2 separate regions of the Homo sapiens genome follow, and region 2 is linked to region 1. Evidence: promoter capture Hi-C in human tissues and cell types (Jung and others, 2019). All regions are on one chromosome and are shown on one strand. Each heading gives the region's core, a stretch centred on a gene start or on the middle of the fragment in contact. The rest is flanking DNA. Distances are from core to core; before and after follow the strand shown. Region 1 holds the start of DOCK7 (dedicator of cytokinesis 7). Region 2 has its middle 40 kb from the start of DOCK7-DT.

Region 1 (2,700 bases), core at 55-2,554:
ACAGCACTAGACAGGAAGTTATGGATCTGACTAATTGAGGCTTTCACCTCTGACTCAGTGTGTGACTCTGGCAAGTGACCTAATGGCTCCAAGCTACAGATTTTCCAATGGTAAAAGAGAGGAAAACAGGTATCCAACATATTCCACCAGGACATACTGAGAATATAATAATAACAATAAATAAATACACATTTTAAGTTCTTGCAATACTTAAGAGGAAAGGTACTACAAGAAACCAAGATATTTTTCTTAGTGTCACCATAATTTCAGTATCAACAGATATGCATTAGGAGCCAAATATTCTAGACATTATGGGATTACAACAGAACAGATGAAAACAAATCTCTGCTAGTCTCTGTTTTATAGGCTATTATGGACAAGGTCAGTTTCAGTGGTCAACACAGAGCTTATTTAACAGAACATCAAAATGGGGGTGAACGTTAGAGCTCACCTGGATTTTATATATATATATATATATATATATATATATATATATATATATATATATATGTATGTATGAGAGACAGAGAGAGATCCAAAAGGGGTTAATAATACGGAAACAACTGTCCTCAAAGAAAAGAACCGGCTCTGGGTTTGAGTCTCAGTGGAAGAGTTTACCATCTGTGCGACCTGGGGCCAGTCACTTAGCTTTTCCAAGCCAATTTCCTTCCCTCTAAAATAGTGATAGTAACGATCTACTTCAAAGCGCTCGTGCTTGAAAAACTTTAATCCAGTGGCTGGCTAAGCACCAGAAGTCAACTATTACTATTGTTATCGCTGCAGGAGCAAGGTATTTTCTGGCTCTTTCTCTATAAGAAAAACCACTGTTTCTCCAGTTAGGCTGCATTCATGAGGCCGAAGCAGAAACCCAAGTGCTTTAAAAAGCTCGGAGACCGGTGCTGCAGAAACATGAACCCAGTCATCCAGGGCTTTGGTTAAAGCACAGCCCCCTCGGCAAAGCCCACCTTTCATTTCCTTCCCTTCCATTTCGGGAAAGCCAAGCTCCCCCTACGCGTTCGGTTATCTTATTTTCTTGCCTCGCCAGGTCGCTGGCCTGTCTCTGGCTTCTCTCCGCGACCTCTCGGTCGTGCAGGCTCCGCGGCAGCGAAGCGGCTGGGGCTGGCGCCTCGCTTCCTCAGCGCTCCATTCTTCCCCTCGGCTCCCGCCGGCCGCAGCCGCCTTCCGCAGCCGGGGTTCCCGCCGGGATTGACGCGCTGGGGGAGGAGCGGTTTCTCGTTGCGCGCCTCTAAGGAACATTACGGCAGGGCTCGTTCCTGGCTCCGGCCGCCAGCCCCAGCCTCCCAGGTCCGGAGCCCGGACTGGCGGAGGCCGCGAGGGAGGGAGCACGAGCGAGGAGGCACGCGCCCGCCGGTCCGCACCCGGCCCGCCGCAGCCGCCGCCGCCGTCGCCGTCGCCGCAGCAGCCATGGCCGAGCGCCGCGCCTTCGCCCAGAAGATCAGCAGGTAAATATCCGGCGTGGGGCGCGCCGCCGCCGCCGCCCGAGAAAGAGCCGCGGAGTCCTCCCAGGCCTGGCCTAGGAGGCGGGTGGGTGTGGCGGGGCCGGCACCGGGATCCCGCGGCCTGGCTCGCGGCGGGGCGGAAGGGGTTCGGGGTGGCTGAGGGGGTAGCGGAGGCCTCGCGCCGCCCTCGAACCCCGGCCTTCAGCCCGCGCCCGCCGCTGAGCCTCGGCAGGGAGCGGAGAGGGCCGCGGACTCCAGCGCGCCCGCCTCCTCCTGCTCCTCGGCGGCCCGGGCCTGGACTTCTGCGGAGGTTTATGGAAGGGCGGTCGGCCGCTTCCCAAATTCTTTGTGTTCCCACCCCCGGGCTCGTCGGGGGCCGCCGCGGCGTTTCGCCCCCTCCCGTCTCTCCGCCCACCCCTCTTGGCCCCTAGAGGGTGCGGGGTCCGCCCTCCTCCACCCCAACAAAAGGAGAAACGCGCGGCGGCTCGGGGCGGGTGGGAGGCCGCCCCTCCTTCACGCGTCTCTCTCTTCCTGAGAAATCTGACAGGAACCCTCTTTGCACCCTCGGGCCAGGTTCAAAGTGGACTTGTGCGTCCAGGATTGAAAACGTGTGGACAGAATGAAAAGTTGAGAGCTGCGGGCTGCACCTTCGGTGTGCAGCTGCCGAATCCCTGACGGATTGCAGGCTGAAGCTTGTTCTGAGTTCGCCTGTGAATTTAACTGTGCGCCTGTGTTTCTCAGAGCACCCGAGAAGATGGATGATAGGCAGTGTTCTTTATACACTGACATCCTTTTATATGTTAGCAGTCTTGAAGTAAAGCAAGTGATTGCAGTCTTGAAGTAAAGCAAGTGATTGAGGTGGAGGTTTCAAAGCCTTTCACCTACTTGTGGTGGTTGGTTGCCACCTTTCTCCCACCCGCCAAATAAAAATTAAATGACAGAGGACTCTAATATTTGTAGAATTTCTTTGTGGAGTATACTTATGTATGAGACAGTAGACATTTTTGTTTTAATAAAATCATATTTGTGTGAATTATGATGTCCCAAGAAAAGAAGCATTCATATTAAATTACCTTTTTTTGTTTTGGGGCAGTTGTAGTTCTGTGGCTCTGAGTCTTTTTAGTTTGCTGACATTTCTTTAAAAATTTTGGGCCGGATGCAGTGGCTCAGGCCTGTAATCCCAGCAGTTTGGGAGGCCGAGGCAGGAGGATCGCTTGAGGCCAGGAGTTCAAGACCAGCC
Region 2 (2,700 bases), core at 13-2,512, 41 kb before region 1:
CACCTGCAAAACATTTCTAGAAAGCAATCTGTTCACGTTGGGGGCAGGGTTAACAGAGACCTCCAAGAAGGATGTTGTCACAAAATGAATGAAAATAAGAAACAACCAATGTATTTTAACATTATGAAAGGAAATTTATAATTCTCGAGGAATGTTTGAGGATGAATTAGTTATAGGTACATAGAAAAGTAAGCAAACAATATAGGCAATTATTAATTCCGGGAAAACCAAAACATATTGTATAAAAGAGGAAATGTAGTCATTGTACAATGTATGGTCATGTTGAATTAACCAAAAGTTGTGCAATGATGTAATTATATAGGGAGAAATGGAGGAGGAAAAGAATGTATGTGAATGTGTTTGTGATGGGGTGTGGTGTTGGGAGCATTATAAGAGAGCTTAATCTTCATCTTCCATAGCAGGAAGCCAAAATATATGAAACTGAACAATCTCCAAATAGCAGCAATACAAGAATGTTATTTAGGAAGACAGAGGCAAGTATGAGAAGAAACAACTAATAAAATCTTTTAAATGTTGCCTTTGAGTACTGGGGATTGGGGGTAGAAAAGGAGAAACAGTGTACTGCTTTTTTCATTATAAGCTTCATAGAATTATGTAACTTTAAAAACTCTGTACAAATATAAACTATTGTTTTAAATAAAAGAGGAAGAAACATTCAACATTTTTTTTCAAGCAATCTTTTGAAAATAAAAGGAATGCTGTGAGGAAACTGAGGGGTGTGAAAGAAAGCCTCAGCCTTAATGGGTATGTAAGACTAGAGAGCGTTAATTGCTATTCCTGTTACAAATATAATCACACGCATAAGTATTATAAAGCCAAACTATAGGGAATTGTGGACAATTATAATAGGGAAATTCAGTCTCATCTGGGGTTTGTGGAGGCTTTCCATACAGAAGCTTACAGTTTAGCTTTAGCCAAAGAGAAGCCGATAAGCAGATCATTTTAACACAAAGGTGGTAGGTAGGAATGATATGCTAAGAATGTGTAGGAGGGGCATTAAGCCCAGCTCGGATGGATGTGGTGTGGAAGGGTTTAGTGAAGGATGTAGAACAATAATCAATTGTTTCAGAAGGGTTTTGAACCTTGGCATGCATAGGTTGAAAGTTTAGAGGCAGGCTGGGCGCAGTGGCTTACACCTGTAATCCCAGCACTTTGGGAGCCCAAGGCGGGCAGATCACAAGGTTAGGAGATGGAGGCCATCCTGGCTAACACGGTGAAACCCCATTTCTACTAAAAATACAAAAAATTAGCTGGGCGTGATGGCATGCGCCTGTGATCCCAGCTACTGGGGAGGCTGAGGCAGGAGAATCGCTTGAACCTGGGAGGCAGAGGTTGCAGTGAGCCGAGATCGTGCCACTGCACTCCAGCCTAGGTGACAGAGCGAGACTCTGTCTCAAAAAAAAAAAAAGAAAGTTTAGAGGCAAATGTTTTTTGACAGCCGGAATAATACCTGGTTTTGTTTTATTTAATTTATTTATTTATAAATAAATATATGGAACACCATTATATAATATTTCTGTGATACAGACACGATAGATGTAAAGAACCTCAAGAAGATAGATAATAGTAGGATTCACTACAATAATTAGGAAGTGATAAGTTTTGAGTATTGTCTGTTTTTAATATAATTTATTTCATTATGTTATAATAAATATTCTGTTTATTTAATTTTTAATAATGGTTAACCACTGTCTCATAAAATTCCTGAATATAAGCCATCTATTCTTATGAGCCAGTATGAGCTGGCTCCAGCACTGTTGGAAATGTTATAATATCTTGAAATATTAATATTTGTGCTTTTTCTCCTCTGTACTTTTAAGGTAGGAGGCGGGACTTGATTCTAGGGGTGGGACTTGGATACTGGACTAGACTGAGGACTAGCCAAGACACTTTTTCACACTTTCTCCCTGGTGTTGCCAAGGAGAAAGCAGTTTTCAATCAGACCCACCCACCAGTGTGCCATGTCAATTTACCGTTGCCATGGCAACACCAGGGTTGTTATCACCCCTTTCCATGGTACCTAACCATTCAACAGTTACTACCCCTTTTCTGCATAAACTGCCCCTTAATCTGCATACAATTAAAAGTGGGTATAAATATGACTGCAAAACTACCCCGAGCTGCTACTCTAAGCCCTGTTCTGCGGGAGCAGTCACCGAGCTGTAACACTGACTGTTCAACAAAGCTGTTTTCTTCTTTCTCTGGATTACCCTTGAATTCTTTTCTGGGCAAGGCCAAGAACCCTCTCTGGCTAAGCTCCACTTTGGTGCTTGCCTGTCCTACATCACTTTCTTGCACTTGATCTTTTGCCTGTAACTCAGAGGTATCTATGCTGCCTTGAGAAGTATGACTGTTATAGTAGGAATGAAAATGGCAAGAAATAAAGGACCTTATTATGCATGGTAGATTAAAAATGTGCCTTCACCACTGGTTCTTCCTGAAATCCCAGTAATGTGACCTCAAAAAAGGTATAAGCCAAAAATGACCAACAGAAAGGGAGAGGAGACAACATAACAAAATTTGAAGAATGGAAGCAGGGGAATAAGTGAGAACAAATATTCCCATCTAGAGAAAATTCAGATCTAAACTTGAAGAGGAGGAGGGTAATAACAAGCTGATTCATGCTGTGAATCACCCCAAAAGCTCAGGAATGGGGGGAATTAGAAAATAAAATTGGAG

What was found. Contacts are between HindIII fragments. The study calls those that stand out against the background at their distance.
Region 2: a contact is called between a fragment that was not itself captured here and the fragment with the promoter of DOCK7 in region 1, in 6 of the 25 tissues and cell types used here (IMR-90 fibroblasts, bladder, heart right ventricle and 3 more).

Annotation. Positions count from the first base shown.
Region 1 is chr1:62,686,990-62,689,689 of GRCh38, reverse strand. DOCK7 (dedicator of cytokinesis 7) reads left to right here and starts at 1,304. Exons shown (of 50, transcript NM_001367561.1): 1 at 1,304-1,463. The coding sequence starts at 1,426. DOCK7-DT (DOCK7 divergent transcript) reads right to left here and starts at 1,208. Exons shown (of 2, transcript NR_185999.1): 1 at 1,038-1,208. RefSeq lists an enhancer at 1-192 and a silencer at 1,202-1,951. The HindIII fragment of the contact is 7,491 bases long and covers 1-2,700 here.
Region 2 is chr1:62,727,510-62,730,209 of GRCh38, reverse strand. No RefSeq gene overlaps it. Among named protein-coding and RNA genes, the nearest start is that of DOCK7-DT, 40 kb to the right of the region's middle. The HindIII fragment of the contact is 3,222 bases long and covers 1-2,700 here.